Regions from separate parts of the Homo sapiens genome. Here regions 2, 3 and 4 are each linked to region 1. Evidence: promoter capture Hi-C in human tissues and cell types (Jung and others, 2019). All regions are on one chromosome and are shown on one strand. The core of a region is centred on a gene start or on the middle of the fragment in contact, and the rest is flanking DNA. Distances in the headings are between cores, read along the strand shown. Region 1 holds the start of SOX1 (SRY-box transcription factor 1). Region 2 has its middle 14 kb from the start of LINC00354. Region 3 has its middle 15 kb from the start of LINC00354. Region 4 has its middle 21 kb from the start of LINC01070.

The links. The method cuts DNA at HindIII sites, captures the fragments that hold promoters and counts their contacts. A contact is called where the count stands out against the background at its distance.
Region 2: a contact is called between a fragment that was not itself captured here and the fragment with the promoter of SOX1 in region 1, in 8 of the 25 tissues and cell types used here (H1 embryonic stem cells, dorsolateral prefrontal cortex, heart left ventricle and 5 more).
Region 3: a fragment that was not itself captured here is called in contact with the fragment with the promoter of SOX1 in region 1 in 2 of the 25 tissues and cell types used here (dorsolateral prefrontal cortex and mesendoderm cells).
Region 4: a fragment that was not itself captured here is called in contact with the fragment with the promoter of SOX1 in region 1 in 3 of the 25 tissues and cell types used here (H1 embryonic stem cells, mesendoderm cells and neural progenitor cells).

The regions. Positions count from the first base shown.
Region 1 is chr13:112,064,236-112,070,028 of GRCh38, reverse strand. It overlaps SOX1 (SRY-box transcription factor 1), which reads right to left and starts at 2,880. Exons shown (of 1, transcript NM_005986.3): 1 at 1-2,880. The coding sequence starts at 2,370. The coding sequence ends at 1,195. All of the region lies in intron 1 of SOX1-OT (SOX1 overlapping transcript), which reads right to left. The HindIII fragment of the contact is 28,986 bases long and covers 1-5,793 here.
Region 2 is chr13:111,876,920-111,882,712 of GRCh38, reverse strand. No RefSeq gene overlaps it. Among named protein-coding and RNA genes, the nearest start is that of LINC00354, 14 kb to the left of the region's middle. The HindIII fragment of the contact is 8,074 bases long and covers 1-5,793 here.
Region 3 is chr13:111,905,431-111,911,223 of GRCh38, reverse strand. No RefSeq gene overlaps it. Among named protein-coding and RNA genes, the nearest start is that of LINC00354, 15 kb to the right of the region's middle. The HindIII fragment of the contact is 3,829 bases long and covers 1,043-4,871 here.
Region 4 is chr13:112,215,485-112,221,277 of GRCh38, reverse strand. No RefSeq gene overlaps it. Among named protein-coding and RNA genes, the nearest start is that of LINC01070, 21 kb to the right of the region's middle. The HindIII fragment of the contact is 8,103 bases long and covers 1-5,793 here.

The DNA.
Region 1 (5,793 bases), core at 1,631-4,130:
TCCATGGCCTGGTCCAGGGTCCCACCACTGGGGTCTTCCCTTCCTCCTCCCTCCTCTGGACCAAACTGTGGCGCAGACCCCCAGCCAGGTGGAAGGCGCCCCGCTTGCAGCAAGGTAACGCGCAGCAGCCCCAGCCGTCCGCAGTGAAACAGCCGGAGCAGAAGATACTTTTATTTCTCGGCCCGTATTAACACTCAGCTCTACAAAATAACCTATAGGTTTTAACTTCCTTCTCTTTCATTGAAAAAGGTTCCTTGAAAAATCCTGTCCTCCCATTCCCCGGGGTTCCCTTACTTTTAGTTCATACAGATAATTTCCCTGTCAGATTTCCTCATTGCATTTTGAACTCATAAAACATGCACATAAAAATAGCATGTTACAAATTTATGGAGAAAATGGGCTCTGTCTCTTAAATTTGTTGACTCGAAACATTTTGGGTGGGGGGTCTTTTTTCGTTTTTAGAAGAAAGGCTTTTTAGAAAACTATGTACATAATCTGACTTCTCCTCCCCGCATTGCAACGCCGAAAATAAAATTTTTCACAATGCATTTACAAGAAATAATACAAAACCCAAAAAAAAAAATGGAAATGCTCAGATACATAAAGTTTTACAAAACCCAGAATATAACTCCGCCGTCTGAAGGAGGGGGTGGTGGTGGTAATCTCTTTGTATAAATTAACAAACCAACCCAAAAGAGCGGTAACAACTACAAAAAACTTGTAAGTGCTTGGACCTGCCTTACTACATTTATAACAAATGCGACGAGCTCCGCGTCACTTGGGCTCCGGCGGTCGGCGCCGTCCGGAAGCAACGCGGAGGAAAGTGAGCGCGCCGGCCGGTATACAAAAGTGGGCTTCGCCTCTCGCCTCGTTTTGACTTTTTTGTCCCCTCGAGCAAAGAAAACGCTTTCCGCTTCCTCCGTAGGTGATAAATACTGTACAAAAAGTCTCAAGAAAACACCGAAGTTCAGTCTAAAACCCAAGTCTGGTGTCAGCGCCCGGCGGTCGCCAGGGTCTCCGGGGAAGGTGAGTGGGGGACACGCGTCACCCGGCGTTCGTCTCCAGTATTTTCCTTTTGACAAGAATGTGGGAACGTCTGTACAAAAGCCACGCCGCGCCGGGGCGGGGCGGGAGCCGGGCGCGGGCCGCGAGCTCGTGGGTCGCCGCCGCAGAGTCCCCGGCGTCCCGAAGGCGCTAGATGTGCGTCAGGGGCACCGTGCCGTTCACGCCCGCGCCCGCGCCCTGGTAGTGCTGCGGCAGCGAGTGCAGCCGGCTCTGCGCCGCGGCCGCTGCTGCCGCCGCCGGGTCGCCCCCCTCGCCGGCGGGCAAGTACATGCTGATCATCTCGCGCAGGTCCCCGGGGCACGGCGCCCGCGAGTGCGCTGGGGCGGGCGGGCTGCCGCTGGGCTCCGACTTCACCAGAGAGCCCAGCGCGCCCAGGGCGCCCGACGACGCGGCCGCCGCCGCCGCCGCCGCCGCCACGGCCGAGTTCTGGTGCGCGCCGCCCGCAGCGGCGGCGGCGGCGGCCGCGGCGCCGTAGGGGAGGCCGCCGTAGCCCGAGGGCGACGCGCTCATGTAGCCCTGCGAGTTGGAGATGGGGCTGTACTGCAGCGCGCCCATGTCGTAGCGGTGCATGGGCTGCGGGTTGTGCGGGTGCGCGTGCGGGTGGTGCGGGTGCGGGTGCGCGGGGTGCGCGTGCGGGTGCGCGCCGCCCGCGCCCGGGTGCTGCCCGTAGGCCAGCTGCGCCTCCTGCATCATGGCCGCGGCCGCCGCCGCCGCCGCCACCGAGCCGGGGTAGGCGCCGTTGGCCCAGCCGTTGACGTGCGCGTAGCCGCCGCCCGCCGCGCCGCCTGGGCTCTCCAGGCGCTGGCCCACGGCCGCCGCGCCCACGCCCACGCCCACGCCCATGGCCACAGCCGCGCCGCCGCCACCCGCGCCGGCCGCCAGGAGCCCGCCGGCCAGCGAGTACTTGTCCTTCTTGAGCAGCGTCTTGGTCTTGCGGCGCGGCCGGTACTTGTAATCCGGGTGCTCCTTCATGTGCAGCGCGCGCAGCCGCTTGGCCTCGTCGATGAACGGCCGCTTCTCGGCCTCGGACATGACCTTCCACTCGGCCCCCAGGCGCTTGCTGATCTCCGAGTTGTGCATCTTGGGGTTCTCCTGGGCCATCTTGCGCCGCTGCCCGCGGGACCACACCATGAAGGCGTTCATGGGCCGTTTGACCCGGTCCTGGTTGGCCTTGGCGCCCCCGCCGCCGCCGCCGCCCCCGCCTCCGCCCCCGCCGCCGCCCGCCCCGGCGGGGCCCGAGAGGTTCGTGGGGGCCTGGGCGCCGCCGGGCGAGTGCAGGTCGGTCTCCATCATCATGCTGTACATCGGGGCGGCTGGCGGGTTCACCGGCACCGCGAGGAGAGGGCCTGGAGCATAGACGGCCGGGGTGGGAGGGAGACGGAGAGGAATTCAGACGGAGTGAGACGGGGGCGGGGGGGTCCTAGCGGAGAGAAGAATGGGGAGGGGTGGAGGCAACGACAACAAAAAAAGGCAGAAACACACGCACTCGGCGCCGGTTCGGCTCGCAGGTGGAAAGTTTCTCCTGATGCACAAACCACTTGCCAAAGAGGCCGACGGTCGGGGTCGCCGTCTTCGCCGCCACCGCAGCCCAGGCGCCCTCGGCGGAGCGGTGCAAACAGGTGCAGTCGTGGCCAAGTTGCAGCTCCGCTTTTGGGGCCGGGAGCGGTGCGCTGGGCCCGGCCCGGGGTGTGCTGTCTCCTCGCCGGCCGCCGCTGCGCGCTGTCTCCTTCCTCCTGCGCTCGGTCCTCAGCGGCCTCCAACTCGGAGGCTGCAACTTCTAGCAGGGCGGCGCGCCGCGTGCGCTGGGCATGTGCTGGTCCCAGGTGCCCGGGGGAAGCCAGGCGCCAGTGGCGGGGGGGGGGAGGCGCAGGGGGGCCTGCAGGGGGCGATTACGGTGCAGCCAGGGAGGGGCCCGGGGACAGCGGGAGGAGCGCGGGCTCGCGGAGAGGGCCGGAGAGCCGGGGCCGCCGAGCCCGGGATGGGCTGCCCGCTGCCTGCCCGGGGCCGTGCGCTCGGAGCGGAGGCGCACGCGGGGCCGGCGGCGCGCGGGGCCCAGCAGCCATACGCCGGGCCCGGGCTGCCATTAAATGAGCGCGCCGCGGCCAATGGGAGCCGGCGGCGGCGGTGATTTGCATGGCGCGCTGGCGAGTGACGTGGGGAGGGAGTAGATACACTGGGCGCGGGCGGCGGAGCGGGGAGGAGGGGAGGAAGGAGGGGGAGCAAAGCAGGAAGGAGGGGGGAGGAGGCCCGGGAGGGGGTGACAGCCACACCGCTTCCTGAGCGCGCGCGCGCGGCGGCGGCGGCGGCGGCGAACCCCGAGCTCGCCCTCCTCGCCGCTCCCCGCCCGCGCGTTCCGAATGATTAACGATTGGGTTGAAAAGCGAAGACTAAGAAAGGATCGTCGTGGGGTGGGGGGAGGAAACGCAGCCCCTGGCCAGGTTTAAACGGGCGCAGTGGAGACCCAGCTCCTCCTCTGCCCCCGCCGGCCAACTCTGTGCCTGCAGGGAAGGGGAAAGTTGAGTGCGGGGCTGGCACGTCGCCCTCAGTTCCCCCGAGTGCTGAAAAGGAGGGGCGCTCCCTTGGACGCAGGGGATACCCTCCGAGGGCCCCTGCAGGTTCTCTGCAAGGATCAGGCGGCTCAGCCATCCCCCGCCCTGCATCCGTTCTCGGCCGCGGCGTGCACTGAAGTTCGCCAGTGCCCGCTCTTGCAGCGAAGGCCTTCACAGTCCAGGCCCCACAATTCGGGTAAAGGGGGAGTATTTGTGTGGGCATGGCTCCATAGCTTCGTTTAGTATCAGCCCTAAACTTTTGTGGGGAGGAGTCTTTCAATGAGCCCGGGGCCATAGTCACGCACTCTTCCCAACCCGGATCTTCTTCCTCTGGAAAAGGAATTTCTAGGAAGGCCGAACACAACAAGATCTATCTGGAATCTAGTTCCTGAACAACAGTTGAAAAAGTTTGTTGAATCGCAAAATAATGATATGGCGCACGCTTTTCTGGAGTGAATTTCCCACGAGCTGGTTGCCTAAGAACGGAGAAAACTGCGTGAACTGCGCGGGGCCACATAAACCGAATGAAAGGCGGGGCCTCAGGACGGGTCTCAGCCGCCGGTCTGCGTCATGCAAAGGAAAGGCCTGGCTCGTGGAAAGAGTAAGGCATTCACCTGTGGTTATCATTCTTAAACCTCAAAGTGGCTTTGATTTGGGAACGTGAAAGAGATTTTCAAACGCAGTCTCAAGTAGCATAGCGCTCACACTACCGTTTCCACCAGACTGATCTGAAAGTGGTCCAAAGACGACTTTTGAGCCCAAGTATTCCTCCTCTGCCCTCCCCGAGGCACCCTGAGATGAGAGTGCTTGTGGAGATTGGTGGTGGGTAAAGTAGAACCTTCACCGCATGTCACATGTCTGCCTGTCTTGTAGTAGGAATATTCAGTAAAGATGATGATAACGGTAATAGGAGTAATAGGATGTTTGAGTCTGTTGGGCAGCGAACACGTGACACCTTTTTTTTCCTCTTAAAAAAACTTCTGAGGTTGTGAATTTCTTGACCCTGTTGCTTGTCCAAGGTAAAAGAATAATGCTTTATTTCCTCTCAATTGCTATGATTATTACTGTAGGGTTTGTTTTATTATTGCAGGGTTGCTACAGTGTGAAGTGCAACAGCAAATTGATCTCTCTGCAGATTAAACTGCTTTCATTCCAGGCCATTCAGCATTTACTAGTAAATCCATCAAGTAATATATAATTATATTAGAAAGGGAACATCATTTTATATTTATTTTTTCACTAAATATCTAGGTTATAAACTGGGCTTCCAACTACCTTCTTATTTCACCAGTCGAGTTTGTTAAATCTTTTGATTTGTTACATGCACTACCTACAAATATCAGTTACATTGTGAATGAACAAAAAAGGAGCAATAATATTGTTTGGGAATGCTATAGCCCCATTTTTTTCTTTGATAATTTAGGAGGCAATGGGTGTGCAGTGAGATCCAGTGTGTTATGGAAAGTCAGCAAGACTGAAATAAAGGAAATGGTTTACAAATTATAAACTATATTATCCACTTAGCAGTTGAAAGATTTCTTTCCTCTGCTTTTCAATTTAGAGTTTAAACTAAATAGCTTAAGACTCCCTGAAAATGCTTTGTATGAATCAGGCTTGGCACATTATTTTCCATATCAATGGAGCAATTTATTTTATAAACACCCTGCACTCCAGTGTGCTTTGCAGGAATGCTTTATGCTTTGGGGAACTTGGATAGCTGACTTTGAAATGGTCTACTTTTTTTCTACCATAGTCCCGAAAATTGTTTCCAAATACGACGTTACCCTTGTTTTTCAGAGCATCTAAATAAGAGGAAAATGGTTTAGCATCCTGTGAGCTCACACTAGTGCTCAACGTTCAGGGTGCTCTCCATAAGCCCTCTTCAGTGACGAGATGTTCCCTAGGCCCAAGCGGCTGCACGCACTATGTGTGGCCACCTGCATAAGTATTAAACCAAAGCTGCAGGTGTAACTTGTTGCCAAGCGATAAATGATTGGCAGCAGCAGGCAGTGCCAATTAGGCAGCACAGGGCACTGCATGCTAGACCTCTGTGCCTTCATTCCTGGCATGAGGATTGACGAGCATAATATTAACTCCTGCTGGTGATCGATGGCTTCTGGAAGCCTCAATTTCTTGCTCCTTCTAAACTCTTTCCTCAGTGACTCTTTAAGAAGAGAGA
Region 2 (5,793 bases), core at 1,741-4,240, 190 kb after region 1:
TGTCTTTGACTTGCTGGAACTAATTCTCTCTGGTCCAGGATATGTAAGAAGCAACTGGGAGATGTGTCTGTTGGGGTCCCTGGGTCTCTGGCCTCACTTGGCTGAGAAGCTGAGATAGAGGGAATTGTTGCCACGCTCCTCCACCCTTCCTTTGTCTCCTGTCTTTGCTGAGTGACTTTATAGTTTTTCCCACACGAGTGGAGGGAACTTCTCTGCCCCATACTGTGGGCTCCATCCTGTGATCTGCATTGGCCAATGAGATGTTGGCCAACTTGAAACCAGCGAGGAATATGCTCAAAGGATGAAGCCACAGGCCGGGCACGGTGGCTCATGCCTGTAACCCCAGCACTCTGGGAGGCTGAGGCGGACAGATCACCTGAGGTTAGGAGTTCAAGACCAGCCTGGCCAACATGGTGAAACCCCATCTCTACTAAAAATACAAAAATTAGCCGGGTGTGTTGGCGTGCACCTATAATCCCAGCTACTTGGGAGGCTGAGGCAGGAGAATAGCTTGAACCCAGGAGGTGGAGTGGAGGCTGCAGTGAGCAGAGATCATGCCATTGCACTCTAGCCTGGGTGACAAGAGCAAGACTCCGTCTCAAAAAAAAAAAAAAAAAAAAAAAGACGAGGCTAGCCCTCCTGCTTCTTTGCTGCTGCTCACAGGAAGAGCATGTCTTGGAAGCCTTCTTGCTCAAGGAGGAGGAGAGGTGCAAGCACAGAGGTGGACCCAACCTGCAGTGGAGAGCCTGCCCCAGCCGAGCCCACAGGAGACCAGCCCGTCTCCACAGAACCTGCGCATGTGCGAGGGGGGCTGGCAAGTCCAGGATCGAGGGGTAGGCTGCAGGCTAGAAACACAGGCAGGAGCTAACACTGCAGTCCTCCTTCTCTGGGAAGCCTCGGTCTTTGCTCTTAAGAATGTCAGCTGATTGGATGAGGCCCACCCACATTAGGGAGAGTCGTCTGCTTGACTCAAGAGTCTCCTGATTGTAGGGAGATCTACAATCTTCTACAAGAAAGGAGATTTCAAACATGATTCATATTTGGATCATGATGTTAACATCTACAAAGTATCTTCACGGTCACACGAGATTCTTATTTGACTGAATAACTGGATACCACAGTCTCACCAATGTGACACGTGAAACCAACCATCACAGTGAGCATGAACAATGGTTATTTTAGCCACTGCGTTTTGGTGTGGGTTGTTACCCAGCATAACAGGACCAACAGCTAACTGATACAGAAGATAAAGTAAATTGGCATGGAAGGCTGTAGAGTTATGTGTCTCAGTGCAGGATATGCTAATGTGGGAAGGGGATGCTTGGCCTGTGCGTTTCGCGCACCTCATCAGCTCTCAGCACACAAAGCCAGATAAAATAAGCTCCATGATATGAAGTGGAACCAAAACTAGGGATCAGTCATTCACCGGTGGTGATGATAAACAGCCCTTCCTAACAATTATCTAGTTAAAACACCATTAACAATTAATGACATACATCACAGAACTTATTGAACCCATTAAAGACTAATTTACTGGCTATAAAATTATGGCATTAGGAATTTACGGATCATTACCTTTTATTCTGGAATGAAATATTGCTGACTGAAACTCTTAGAAACTGTTGAAAACAATTACTCATTAAAGCCACATGAAATTAAATGATATGGCTTAGCAAAGGGGAAGAAAAGAACCCAAGCAAAGTTTGAAAATGTTTTTTTGAGGAGAAGCACTAACTTTGCACGACACTGAATGGATAAAGATTATATTTTCAAACAGGATTAAGATCTACAATTAAAGAATATGAACTAAGTAATTTTAATGTGCAATGAAATCTTCTTTTTGGGAAAACGTATTAGATCATGACTGATAAAAATTCCGATCATGATTAATCACTGCTAGGTATTTTGGAACACTATTAAAGAGAGTTTAACAATGTTAAAATTAATTAACTAATTCCTCTAAAAGGGTTTAAAATATAATACGATGCAACAGCTGTTGCAGCTTTAAATATGATTATTTCCTTTCCGCCCTGAAACCAAAATTTGCCAGTCAGAAATCAACCTCATTTTATTGCAATTTCCAATTTATTGCTTGGTAATGAGATCAACTTAATCGTGATGAATGCCTTGTTTTCTAAGCGACCATATGCACAAGAGCACATCCCAAAGTATGTGGGATGTGGGATGTCCCCTCCTCCATCTGCCTGCGGGAGCAGCCCTGGGTAACAAGCCCACAGAGCTCAGGGGCCCCGCTCCATCTGCCTACAGGAGCAGTCCTGGGTGGCAGGTACACGGAGCTCAGGGGCTCTGCTCCATCTGCCCGTGGGAGCAGTCCTGGGTAACAGGCAGGCACAGGGAGCTCAGGGGTCCTGCTCAATCTGCCTGTGGGAGCAGACCTGGGTGGCAGGTGCACAGAGCTCAGGGGCCCTGCTCCAGCTGACTGCGGGAACAGCCCTGGGTAGCAGAAGCACAGAGCTCAGGGGCTCTGGTGGGAAGAGGACATGCACACACAGGCTGCTCTAATTTTTGGATTTTGGTTCTAGAGAGTGATTGAGCAAAATGAGCCCGAATTTCTGTCAGAAAAACATTGAGCTTAGAATACATTTTTATAACAATAAAACATAGAATTGCAAAACTTGAGAGCTAGAAAAGATCAAGTCCAAACTTGTTTTGAAAATAAAGGAACCAAGGCCTGGAGAAGTCAAGCAACTGGCCCAGGGTTATGCAGTCGCCAAGGTTATGCAGAATTAAACCCCGTGTCTCCTGAGTCCCCCGGCAGGGTTTCTGCAGCAAGCACTGTTTCCAGGTGGCCCTCTGGAGGGGCTATTTGCTTATACAGAGTGGACGTGAGCTTTCCCTATGGCAGACAGACCACGGGTCATCAGGTAAGCACAGAGTTACCTCTGAGACACTCCTAAAAGAGAAAACATTACCAAACAAAACTCCAGGTCTCTCCAGAGAGTCTTTGGATGCCATGTACCTGCTGTGCTGGGTTCTCCTCCTGCTACTTATATTAAACAACAGCAACATTTTTATTCAGGCAAGAAAGTGAAATGGTTTCCTCAGCACAGAGGGGCAAAAAGAATCCCTCGCCCCCTGCAAGCACCATTATATTACGGTCGCCATACAAGCTCTATGGGGGCTTCCAGGGAGCTGCTGTGTTCCATGCTTGCTGAACCAGAGAGGCCTGCTTCAGGTTGACTTTAATTCTTTCCAAGAGGCAGAAAACTGCCAGTGTCGCAATAAACATACATGTTCATGTGTCTTTATAGCAGCATGATTTATAATCCTTGGGGTATATACCCCGTAATGGGATGGCTGGGTCAAATGGTATTTCTAGTTCTAGATCCTTGAGGAATCACCACACTGCAAAGACTTGGAACCAACCCAAATGCCCATCAATGATAGACTGAATTAAGAAAATGTGGCACATATATACCATGGAATACTATGCAGCCATAAAAAAGGATGAGTTCATGTCCTTTGTAGGGACATGGATGAAGCTGGAAACCATCATTCTCAGCAAACTATCACAAGGACAGAAAACCAAACACCACATGTTTTCACTCATAGGTGTGAATTGAACATTGAGAACACTTGGACACAGGAAGGGGAACATCACACACTGGGGTCTGTCATGGGGTGGGGGTAGCGGGGAGGGATAGCATTAGGAGAAATACCTAATGTAAATGATGAGTTAATGGGTGCAGCACACCAACATGGCACATGTATACAGATGTAACAAACCTGCAAGTTGTGCACGTGTACCCTAGAACTTAAAATATAATAAAAAAAGGAAAAAATAAAATAAAATGAAAATAAAAAAATAAAAAAGAAAAAAAAGAAAATTGCCAGCGTCTCAGGGGATTGCTTTCTCTGGGGCTTCCAGACCATCTTATAATGTGTTAAAATTGCCAGTTTGCCTGCTCCTGACTGCACCCCAGAGAATCTGTAAGACCAGCACCATCAGTCAACAGGATAATACCAAAGAAAGTCACAAATTTCAATGCACCAACTTTAGGTCCTTACCAATTGGCTTTAAATATGCTTGGACTTGAGGCACCAAACACAAAACGAACATTCAAGTCACCTCATATGAACAGATGTGCAGAGGAGCTGCTCGTATTCTTTGCTCCTGCATTCCCTACTACATAAATAAGAGTGGGTTGTAAGCCATCTACAATTCTTAATGCCTCAGTGCTAACTTGACAACAAAGCAGCAAGTTTCTTCTAGAGAGGGAGCCATTTATTTTCACTTGGTTTTAATTTTTCCGAAACCTAATTATAATTATGAATACACATTCTTGCCTTGAAGCTTATATTCTAATTGCTGAACTAAATAGTTGACAAATAATAAAAACAACCCAGTAAATAAAAGACTAATACATTCACTGTTGTTCTGAGAAGAATGATTGGTGCACACGTAATATATATTATAATATTCTTACAGACCAATTTCTACGCGGAGGATCATTAACTGTATTTTCTATAAAACCAAGATTCTGATTCTGTATCCGTCCTGTTCCTGGGGCAGCCTTCAGCAAGTTCATACCTGGGAGCTGATGGACATGAAGAAAATGTACATCAAACGCGCTTCTCCACGTTGGAAGGGCCACTCAGCCTCTAATCGTCCAACCGACAGGCAGGCAGGAGCGACATTCTCCAGATGGGAGACTACAGTGAGTCGGCTTGCTAGCTAAGTTGCAGCAACTCAAGTTGGGGGGTTCTTTTTCTTCCCTTTTTTACTCTCCATAAAAAAAATGACGGTATGTCCCAACACTTGTAATGGGCATATCCTAAGAGTGTCCCTCCCCAAATTCTCAAACAACACTGTATTCCCAATAACATGCAATAAATGATACATTTCAAAAATTGAAATAGCTCATTCAGACTTTAAATGTATAAACATGGGATCAAAATTGTTCACGAAGCTGTTGTCTGGTAGAGAGTTCCTTTCCTAGATCACTTCTGTCACCAACACAAGCAGGTGGCATGCTTTGAAGACCCCCCTCATGAAGGGGCACAGCATTCATCAGTTCACCTGGGTCAACAGAGCTGCTACAGATGGGGTGGGGGTGGCTGGGGGGATGGTTTATGCACTGAGGCCTCATCTCTGCTCTCACCAGCCATGCGGTACAGGAAGTTCACCGCCACGCCCTGATGAAAGGAAAAGTTGGATCCTGCAGTAGCTTCCCAGTATTCAGAACTGTGTGCTTGCCTCTAAGGAGGACCTTCCTTCCAAATAGAAGCTTCTCCCTGGCAAGTTTGTCTGGTTCATTCCCTGGAGACCCTGGTGTGAAGTAAGTCCCAAAGATGTACGTCTATAAGCAAATTGTAGCTACCCTGGGTGCTGTTGCTTCTTGCCTACCTGCCCCACCTTCGGAAGATATTTTCATCCACCCCTAGAATTTTGCACTTCTCCTAATACACTGTGCTTACTTCATGTCTTAGAAACAGAAACATCCCCGGATTCCTCTTTCCTTCACCAAACCCCCATTCCATAGTGACTTCCAAAGGGCTGGAGCAAAAGTTTTCAGGAATGAGGAAAACATCCAAAGAACAAGTTAGTGGGTAAAACACCAGAGATCAATGTAGCATGCAGGACCCATGATGGATAAGGATGCGGTAAGGTTTTAGAGAAAACTTCTTCATCTTACAAATGTTTTTCCCTCTTTTCTTAACCCTGTTGCATTGTCCTTAATTCTAGCAGAGTTTAATCACCTTTGATGCTTTTGCCCAGAAAGATATTTACCGGCATTCATCTCTGTCACCGATCTTTGAGCAATTAGTCAC
Region 3 (5,793 bases), core at 1,708-4,207, 160 kb after region 1:
GCCAGTTTCTGCAGGATGAGAGTGAAACCCCCATATCTGAAAAGAGTGCTTCTGCAGCCTCTCCTTGATTTGTTCAGGCATTTCAGAGTTTGAGGAGTCTGGTCCTACAGAGTAAGAATCAGGCCGGGCTCTCTTCAGGAGAGACTCGAGGACACCAACTCTTTCTCTCCAGAGGCACTGCAGTGTCAGATCTGCCTACAGAACCCTGAGACTTTTGGACAAAATAAAATATTCATGCATTTGGAGGACTTTTAGGACTCAGAGTCAGGAGCAAGATGAAACCTTAGAAATTTAAACCTGGAGCATTGCAGATATTGAGGAGGTGAGTGGCTGCAGCCACCATATCAGTTCAACAAGGAGAATGAAATAAACACCACGTGCCAGTCTTGTAGGTGACAGGGATGGAGTTATTGTGACTCTGGGAGGATCAGCCCCTAGACACACGTGCGGAGCCCACGAAGCCTGCAGGAACTACAGCAGGCTTGTGTTGTTGGAGCCTCCATTCTTCCTCTATAAAATGAGGAGTGTGAGGCTGCCTGGGCCCCTGCAGGAGCAGGAGCAGCCACAGCATTGAAGAAGGTGGGGATGGGGGCTGTGGGTCCCCCCACCAGCTCTCCCTCCCTGGGTGGCCCCTCAGCAGTGTCAAGAGCTCCTAGAGGTTGACTGTGCACATCAGAACCGGCGTGAGGTCCCCCTGGCCGGGCCGGCTCCTCGCTGATGGGGTCGGGAGCTCTTTCTCATGTTGCCCTCTCTGGTGTGTGGTCCTAGGTCTGGCTCTTCCTCCTCCTGATGGTTTTGGCCACCGACGTTCATCAGGTTCACTTAGCAGGTGCACCATTTATCTTGGTGTCCTGCTCTCCGTGAGATGCTGGCCTGCAGGCGTCTGGCTGGCTGGCTCACAGATGGCTCTTCTCCAAGGCAGGAGCAATGGCTGTGGGTACACCCATGTCCTTGGGAGACAATGGAGGCTGTGGGGCTCATGGCCTCTGTGGAGGTAAAGGAGCACCTGGGCCAGCTCCCAGCCTCCCGAAGGTACTATGGGTCCCATCGTCAGGTAGACGACGCAGGGACCCCTGCGTTCTGGGTACCTGGACCTGAGGAAGGAGCCCTCGGTCTGGGGTGGATGGAGCCAGTCTCTGGGGATCCATTGGCTGAGATTCCCACCCCATTTTGATGGTAATTTCAATGGGGGGTCCCATCACCCTTTTGGTGAGGGGCAGTATTGAAGCCCAGATACTGAGGAGCAGTAAGGGGCATAAACAGGGCTACCTCAGCACACATCCACCCAGAGGCCAGGAGCTGGAGGTTTGTGAGAAAAGCAGGAATTCCCCACTTTCCCATTTGCCAAAAGGACTAGAGAAAGAATGAAAGGCAAGACGTGGGGTAAGTATCTGGAGGCCAAGGCATAAGGAAGAGAAGGCTCCATGCCCACCGAGTCACAGCCATGAGCTCCACAGGGACAGGGAGTCCGTTCATCCAGGATCTGGAACCCTAAGAACCTTGTGGCCTGAGTGACATTCCCCCAGGCCAGCACGGCACCTGCCCAGCACCTCCTAGCACCGCCAGCACCACTCACGGCGGGATACGACTTCCCTTCACCAACCCCACCCTGTCCACTCGTTATCCTAGGACGTGCGGCCCCTACTCACCCCTGGGCCCCTCTGTGCCCAGGGCCCACAATGCTAGAGAGACCTTCGGGGGGGGGGGGGCATCACCTTATTGGCTGAAGGAAAAGGTGTACCAGGGTCTCACCCTCAAATCCAGTGGACTGAGATCCGATCTCAGGTGACAGAGAGTCTTATTCTGAATCAGATGGAAACAGAACCCTATGCAGGTAGAAGATAAAATGTGGATGCAAAACCTAGAGGCTGCAGTTAGAAATCAAGTGAGGTCAACCACAGGCAAGCATAGAACACAAATTAGAGTGTCCAGACTCTCTCCTGGCCATTACAGCCACCGCCTGGCTGCTGCTGTGCCAGGGGTTCACCCAGAGCCTTTTCCCATTAGGAGCGAGATAACGGCCCCCTGCCCCGGCTGCTGCGGGTCTAGATGTGGCCACCCGCCTTGTCTCGCCTCCGGTGGTTGGAGAGGAGCAGGGGTGGACAGTGTCAGGGATGCCAGCACAGCCTTGGCCTGGAAGCCAGTGGACTTCTTGATCCTTCATCTGGAAAAAGACAGGCTGATTAACCACTGTGTTTTAATAGTTTTTGTTATTATTATTATTTTGAGATAGAGTTGAGCTCTGCTGCCCAGGCTGGAGTGCGGTGGTACAATTTCCGCTCACTCCAACCTCTGCCTCCCCAGGTTCAAGTGATTCTCCTGCCTCAGCTTCCTGAGTAGCTGGGATTACAGGTACCTGTCACCACGCCTGGCTAATTTTTGTATTTTTAGTAGAGATGGGGTTTCACCATATTGGTCAGGCTGGTCTCAAACTCCTGACCTCAGGTGATCCACCCACCTCTGCCTCCCACGCCACGATTACAGGCATGAGTCACTGTGCCTGGCCAGATTTTATTATGATTTAAGTGGAAGAGGCCAGCAGATCGGGAGACGACTGCCATTGAGAAGAGTTTGTTACAGTCACTGCTTCCAGGAGAAGGAGGCAAGCAGCACCCTGTAGGGCACGCAGGGAAGGCCGGGTCGGCCGGGAGGGAGACGGGCTATGGCAGGAGCCTCTATCTACCAGCCTTTATGGCCGTTTCCGGGGCAGGGAAGGCAGGCTTAGGATTGACTGGTTTGAATAATTCTGGCAGGCCCTGTGGCACTGGGGCTGTCTCTAGCTGTCTGGCACCTGCCCCAGTGTGATCAGCTCAGACAGATAGTGGCCCGGAGGGTGACCCAATAAGCAGGCGGTCAGGATGTGGGCTGAAGAAGGGGACCTGGCCACCTCTAGCCAGGACCTCCAAACTGGGTCAAGACAGCATTTTCCAAACCACATTCTATGCTGCTCCAGAGGAATCAGAAGACGCTATTCATTCACTCCTTGGAGGGAATGTGTGTGTATATGTGTAATGCCCATGTACAAAAGTAAGTAATGCACACATTTTATATTTTACAGAATGTATTTTACATCTTATGGTGTATGTCTGCAACATTTTATATCTTGCCAAGAGAAGGTATGAATGTTTGCTACTTTCTAATTCCTCTTTTTGAGATCAAAGAAATCTCCACTCTTAGTGCACAGAGAAGAAAGAATCTGTTGCCAGATGCCATCTTGGACATCTACTTATGCTTAAAAAGGAATCAGTCCCTTTGCTCCATGAAGACAGCGGCCAGGTTGAATACGCGAGCTTCGTCCACTGTCCTACCATGCAGGGAGCGTCTTCACTTCTCAAACTCTCCCCACTTGCGCTTCTCACCCATCAAGCCATCAACACCCCTGGGCCCCAGGAGCCTCTCCCTCTTATATCTCCAGATCAAGCAAGGTTCAGACACCTGGACTTCCCAGAGCTCCCAGGAGGTCAGGCTGTTGTGTTCACATGACTTCCCTGCAGGCTCAGGGTGAGAGAACTTCAGAGAAGAGACACCAGCTCCGACTCCTCAGATGTGACCTTCCTGGAGGCACCTGGTGCCAGCCCCCCTTCCACTGGGTAGGCCCCTGTCCTGGAGTAGAAGCCTCTCCAGCTCCCTTCCACTGGGTAGGCCCCTGTCCTGGAGTAGAAGCCTCTCCTTCTGCACCACCAGGGTCCCTGTAGCCTTGGGGTTAAGCTTCCAAGAGCACAGCCAGGCAGAGGAAGGGGCTCTCTTTCCCTGGGCTGAGGCTTCCGCCCCACTCCACGCTTTCTGTCCCTGGAGCCTCTGCCCGTTCCTCAGTGCCTGACATTAGCCCTGTCCTTTCAGGGAAGAATTATGCTCCCTAATAACAGCCCCAACAGAACAGAAGCTCATTTGTCCATTAGAAAAGAGACATGATTATTACATGTTACATGCCTGTATCAAAATATCTCATGTACCCACAAACATTAAACATGAAAAAGAAAAAAGGAAAAGAGACACAGGCAGAATTTGAAGAACTGTTTTCTCAAAAATTGAGAAATATGCGAACTAGGGTCAAGAACCGAGCCCCTCTCCATTTCCTTGGTAATGACCCCTCTGACAGAAGCCACGAGGCACAGGCAGCATTTCAGGTCTCCAGTCCCATTCTGTGTAGCTGTATTGGAGGCCGTGACCTGGGTCCATTTCATAGGCATTGACTGAGCACCAACAGTGTACACGGTGCTTGCTCCAAGTGCAGACAGGGCAGCCACGGTCCCAAGGGCGCGCATTGTGGGAGAAGAAACATCAGGGACAGCACAGCCCAGATCTGGGATCCATGGGGATTCGCAGGTCATTAGGAAAATGTGGGAACCCAGACACTGAGCTTGAGGAAAGCAAGAAAAGAGCTGGGGAGGCTTCAGAGGGAAGTAACATGAGAGCTAAGTCTCAAAGTTAAGTACAATGTTGCCCTGGGAGCAGGATCAAAACTGGAAATCTCATTGCAGATTTTTATGATTCTGATTTTAGGGAATATCTTCCATTTCAATCAGCTCAACATGGCCACAAAGAGATCATAAAGTGTGCAGCAGCGTCGGTGCCTGGAAGTGCTCCAGGTGCGTAGCGGCCAGGCACTGCCTGCTCCCAACTGATTATGAGGTGGTAGATTTGGAATCTTTAAAATTTAAACCACTGCTTCCCATCCCAAATAAGAATGTGGACTATGGGCCTGGCACGGTGGCTCATGTCTGTAATCCCAACGCTGTGGGAGGCCAAGGCAGGTGGTTCACCTGAGGTCAGGAGTTTGAGACCAGCCTGGCCAACACAGCAAAACCACATCTCTACTAAAAATACAGAAATTAGCCAGGTGTGGCGGCACGTGCCTGTAATCCCAGCTACTCTGGAGGCTGAGGCAGGAGAACCACCTGAACCTGGGAGGTGGTGGTTGCAGTGAGCCAAGATCACACCACTGCACTCCAGCTTGGGTGACAAGACTGAGACTCTGTCTCAAAAACAAACAAACAAACAAAAAATAATACAAATAAAAAATAAAATAAAAGGTTTTTAGAATGTGGACGGTGAAGCAATTGCATTTTTCTTCGTAAGTCTCAGGAGAGTCAGGGGCTGGCTTGATACTCCAGCTTGGGTGACAAGACTGAGACTGTCTCAAAAACAAACAAAAAATAAAAAGGTTTTTAGAATGTGGACTGTGAAGCAACTGCATTTTTCTTTGTAAGTCTCAGGAGAGTCAGAGGCTGGCTTGATACTCCAGCTTGGGTGACAAGACTGAGACTCTGTCTCAAAAACAAACAAACAAAAAATAATACAAATAAAAAATTAAGGTTTTTAGAATGTGGACTGTGAAGCAATTGCATTTTTCTTCGTAAGTCTCAGGAGAGTCAGAGGCTGGCTTGATGCTCATGACACGCATCCACCATCTTCCTGGCCCACCGGTGACTTCACGTGCCTAAGCCACCATCAGTGCAGCTATGAGGCTGAGTTCCAGCCAACAGTCTCTGAACCACGGAACGGAGTAGGGTCTGTCTTCCACCCCAAAAACCAACATACAGCACTGCGAAGTAAGGACAAATAAAACTTGTGTCACGTGAAGCCACTGAAGTGTCAGAGCTGTGAGCAGAGCTCTGACCCTGCCTTCACTGGCACACAGGCGTGAGAGGGCAGCTTGAGAGAGAAAGTGACAGTCACTGAGGGTGGAGGGGGCGGGGACGCGGAAGGGGGCGGGGACGCAGAAGGGGGCGGGGACGCGGAAGGGGGCGGGGACGCGGAAGGGGGCGGGGACGCGGAAGGGGGCGGGGACGC
Region 4 (5,793 bases), core at 2,442-4,941, 150 kb before region 1:
TGCTAACTAGTGAACAAGCATAAGGTCATGATCCCTCATGACTGCAAATGCAGCTAAAGGGAACCGCTCCATCAATGAGAAAGACAGGAACATCCACGGAGCGTCATCAGACGGCGTTTTCTAGCGAGGCACACGTCACAAGTTCAGAGAGCGTCTTCTACCTAGTCCCTGAACCAAGACAGGAACATCCACAGAGCGTCATCAGACGGCGTGCTCTAGCGAGGCACATGTCACAAGTTCAGAGAGCATCTTCTACCTAGTCCCTGAACGCTGCACAAGGAAGGAAGATTCGTTTTGCAGGAGCAGTGCAAAAGCAAAAAGCAACAAAAGGAAGCCCAATTCTGACGCAGGTTGTTTGATGTGCATGAAGGGGGCAGACGGAAATACAGCAAGTTCTCTTCCACGTTAGCTCCCCTCACATTGGCCCTGGTGCCGTCTTCATGCCTGCTGCAAGCTGAGTGAGGCAGGCCTGCTGTCCTCCCTGGGGCGAGCTTCTCCACTGATTTTCCTTATACCTGGGACCCAAAAATAGATTCCAAAACCTACCAGACATTTTATTGGAGCATAAACAGTGCAAAATAACAGAATTCCACCCTATAGAAAACAGCAGCTGGGGGCCTCACAGGCCAGGCATCTACAATGATGGGATTGCTGACCCTACGTTATCTGCCACGCTTGCAACTTCTCTGGCCAAGCAAGTCTCGGGAGCTGCGAAACAGATGAGGGCAGGAAGGCCAAACCGTCTGCTGGTTTTCCCGCTGACTTCCAGGGTGGTTTCAATCAACGTGCAGGTGCGGCGTTGAGAATGACAGCTCGTCGGCCTGTACGCCTCTCAATAATGAGATTACATCTCATGACAGTGGTGAATTTGACTTTGACATTATGGAATATGAAGCAACCACTGTAACAGGAATTGTTTTTTAAAAAGAAAGAGATGCAAAAAGTAATGGTCATTTATATTAATTTCACCACAGAAATGGTGGCTTGGTATAAGAAAAATTGCATCAAAATTATAATTCTAAGCATAAAACAATGATTAGTATTGCAGTCATTGGAGAAGAAGGCATGCAAAAAAAAATACCACGAACATTTCAGGAGACTATTTTCCTCATATGAAGCTTATTCTTATAATATTACTGCATTTCAAAAAATACAATTTTAGAAAAAAAAATGAACTATAGCTCTTTGCAGTGATAGGCGACAGGTCAGAAAAGCATTTCAGAATAATTTTACACCTTTTAACCTTAAAAAATACTTTGCTGACAATTGAGAAAGGGCCTTAAAAGAAGCTCTGATAGGCATTCTCACAGCGGGGTTGCCTGTCCCATCACAGGGCTGGCGTCTGCATAATGCACCCCATAATAAGACGTGCGCTGCAGATCACAAGGCGGAGGAGAGGCTTTAAGAGTCAGCCTTGGCAAGAGCCGCTATTAGTCATGACACTGAAAGTTTGTTGCATAAAACTCTTGGGAAGACATAAAGGAGGTAAACTGTTTAAAATTTTGATTTGAGCTGGGAAAGAACGACTTTGTCACAGGATTTTTGTCTGCATTTAAATATAGATTTAGCATTTCTGGTTTTCATTTCTGCTCATGCTTGGACAGTCTGGTTAAATGGAAACTCCACACTGCTTTGCTAAATGAATGGCACTGTCCTCGGATTCTATTGCTCAAAGCGGTAATTGTTAGAAAACTGTGGTAACAATTACTGGTGATAATTACGAATGCTAATAACGATGGCTGGTAGTTATATGTTTCCCAGTTGCAAATCCCGGTCAAATTTAGGGGAAACTCAGCAATATTTCGTCGTAACAAAAACAAAAAAACCATCCATCAAGGAATGATACACCCTGAAGTCATCTTTTAATGCCATTATAAAAGGGATGGATTCTGAGTCAGGTGAAACTTGCCTCCTGGAACTGTAGCGGGAAAAGAGAGGAAAGAGGAAGACAATAGGATTTCTTGTGACTTTCAACAAAAATCTCACTAAACACAAGAGAGGCGAAAGGAGATGGGAAAGACTTGCTTCTAAGCAAGTTTTCTTTTCCTTACCTAGAGACCAAATTCATGATGTTTTTAGTTGTCCTGGGGATTGCTTTCAGCTGTGCTTTGTTTAAGACGGACACTGTTCCTGTCTCAGGTGAGGTCACTTTAATTAGAACAGCGCTGACCTCGGGACTGGATTTGACTAGCTACTCAAACACAGTGCCTTTTATTGTTTTAGAGATATTCAGAGATGAAAGAAGTAATTGGCTGTCGGGTCTGGATCCTACTTGAATCACGCTTTAGTAGGATGCAGAGAAGTTGCAGCTAATTCTTTCTTTTTGTCTTTCTTTCTTTCTTTCTTTCTTTCTTTCTTTCTTTCTTTCTTTCTTTCTTTTTCTTTCTCTCTCTCTCTCTTTCTTTCTTTCTTCTCTTTCCCTCTCTCCCTCCCTCCCTTCCTTCCTTCCTCTCCTCTCCTCTCTCTTTTTTCTTTCTATCATCCTTTATCCTTCTTATTTTTAACTTTTCCAGTTTGGGTGACAGTTTCTCTTTCAAGTCATACAAAAGACTTTCCACATTTTCTTATTCTGGCTCCATGTGGCCACTCTCTGAGCAGTCGTCCTTGGGAACATGAAGTGAACTTGGTGCCTCTCGGGAAAGGACTTTCTCCTGCTCCGCTGTCTGTGAAGATGATGGAGGTGCCAGGGCCTGGCTGGCAACATCCATGTCCCATGAGGCGTTTGCTCCAGAACGAGCACTTTGCTTCTCTTTGGCAACTAGTTCAATTAACAGAGGGTTCTGTAAATTTTAAACGGAGAAACAGGGACCCAGCAGGGTGAAAAGGAATCCACTTTTGGTGGGAGAAGACAGTGCTGCTATGGGGTTGCCCTGAATGGGTTGAGGGGTTTGCCCACACCACTGGCAGAGGAGGGCCTCTGAACTTTGTGTTGTTCTGCTGCCAAGAGAAGGAAACTGGTGAAGAAGATCTGCGATTTTACAAAATGATAGGTTATTGTTCTTTGTTATTTATGTTCTATTTAGTAAGTTGTTTTATATGCTGTTCTATAGATTCAGGCAGTTTTCAATGCCTAAAATGGCTCTATCCCACCCCTGAAATATATATTTTGCATATGATTTCATTTTTTATTCTCAAAGTTCAAATTCTACATGTTTTGGTCAAACGTGGAGACGTGAATTTGACTTGTGGCGTTGACTATTGAGAAATAGTCAACTAAGTGACTGGAAATAGCAATTTTTAACCACTTCGTGGAGGCTGTGTGAATGTCACCCTAATCAGATGAAGCGCTGACTGACAAGATTTATGACAGTCACAAAAAAGTCCTGGCATCTCAGCTTTCCACAGTGTGCGGACCACGGTGGTTACCGTGGTAATTAGTATTTTCCAGAAAAATTCATCAATTTTCCTCATATTGTCAGGGAGCCCCAGATACCCATGCATATGTGCAAACACACACTAACATGCACGTGCATGCATAGCAACACACCTGCACCACACGTGCACACATGCAAACACACAAACACATATATGCATGCATAGCAACACACACATGCACACACACTTGCACACGTGCAGACACAAACACATGCATACCAACACACATGCACCCACACGTGCACACATGCAAACACACACAAACACACATGTGCATGCATATCAACACACATGCACACACATGCACACATTCAGACACAAACAAGTGCATGAATACCAACACACACATGCACCCACATGTGCACACATGCAAACACGCACTTGCACGCATATCAGCACATGTGTGTACACATGTGTGCACACCTGCAAACACACGTGTGCAAGACACCCTGATAGGAAACCCTCTATGACCTGCCGGGGTCTCCAGCTCAGCTTTCCCTCTTGGAGCAGGTCGGGAGCAGCACACTCACTCACACTTGCTGGAGTGGAGAAACTGCAGCTGCATGCACCAGGTCATTCTTTGCTAATATCTTTATTTTCCAGAGAAATGAAAATGATGCATTACACTTAGTATCTATTCTCTGAGAATTCGCAGATACTGAACATGCCAGTTTGCTCTGACAGCAGTCTAATCTCATGAATAGTCTCCGTGTTGTTAGTGAAGACACGAAAGGAAAATCACTGGGGATCAGTCTTTTCTCAGGGCTAAGCTCCGTGCACGGGCCAATGACCAGAGAAAGAAGGGGCACCTCCAGTTTGTCAGTTCTTCTCCTATTTGCCCTCCATTTCTAATGTCAAACTCACCCCGTCACTTTCTGACACCTCTCACCATGTCAGAAGTAGAGAGAGAATTGGCCGGACTTGTTTCTTAGTAGAAAGTGCAGGATTTGGGGTGCTCATACATGTTTATGAATCATTTTTATTTGCTAACAGCATATAATTTTGACAGAATCACTTGGATGAACAATTAGCTTCAGGAGGCGAAGCTCTGACAAGGGCCCATAGGTCAATGGTTGGTCGTGCACCCTCATTGTGGGTATTTTCAATGCTCTCCCTGCTCTGTGGCCTCGCCCCTCCTCTTCCCCGTCTAATGCCTGGGGACTTGAGGGAGCTCAAAAGTGACATAAGCATGAGTAACTTTCTTTATGTACTTTTCTGTATTTTTCCCAATATTTTAAAGGATATCCATTACTTTTCTCTCCCAGTAATTTTAATGTAAAAAAATAACACAATTAAAAAAACCCAGATTTTTCTCCTACAATCGTTTGTCTCTCCTGCCACTGTGGACCAGACGCTCTCAGTGCGGCCAGCGAGGCCGTGGGTTCAGCAGGAACTTCCCTGCTTGCATTTTCTCTTTCCAGAAATGTCTCCTGCTCCTTTCACGCCATGTGTTTTCTCAGCCCGTTGCCTCGGCTTGTACCATCCTCTTCCACCTGGAATCCTGTCCTCCACCTGACCAACTCTGCAGAGACTTCAGGACCCAGCTGAGAACGGTTCCTCCAGGTCCTGGGGTCCTCCACTCCCTCATCCCCCGGCCCACAATCCCCTGGGCACCCACACTGGGACGCTGATTCCATCTCGAAGGCACTGTGGTGTCAGCTGTGAAGGCTTGCATTCCCTGACACCCGGGAAGGGGCCTCGTTCTCCCCCAGCAGGGCCCTAGAAATAAGCGGATTCATCACCTTAGCCTCAGCGTGAGCTTCGAAGCACACGCTCTGAACAGAACCTCCTGGACACAATGCGTGGGGGAGGCCCATCGCCCGGCCAAGGCGTCCTTGAGACCCCAGGAGGGAGTCAGATTCCTGCTCCGAAGGGCCTGCAGGCCCTGGAGCACCCGGACCTCGGCTCCTGACAGCAAGCAGTGGATGTACCCGTGCAGGGGATCCGCTGCCATTCCAAGGATCCCGCTGGCGTGCCACTCGGTTTTTCTCTGCAGATAACCTGGAAACTGGGAGATTTGTACAGATTTGAATGTTGACTTCATCAGCCCCGCCTCTCAAAAACTGCATGTACTTGAAATAAGAGTGAAAAACAATGGCATTGGAAGCCAGACTCCAGAAATCAACCAGAACGGACCTGTTAATGGGTTCTGGTGGCGGTGGAGATGAGAACATGCCTTTTTTTCTTTGAACATTGCAATAGGAGAAATGACACATGGGTAAGGAGCTCTTTTTCTCCCGCTCCTGAAAGGAACAAGGCCCACCTGACACTGGTCACTGGTGTTTCCCTATTCACAAAACGGGGATGGAAAAATCAGCCCCACCAGAGAAGAGCTAGGGTGCCTTGAGACTCCACAGTCAGACACCCAGCAAGGTACAGAGAAGGCAGGAGAGGAGCACAGCTCAGTGCTTCCTGCTC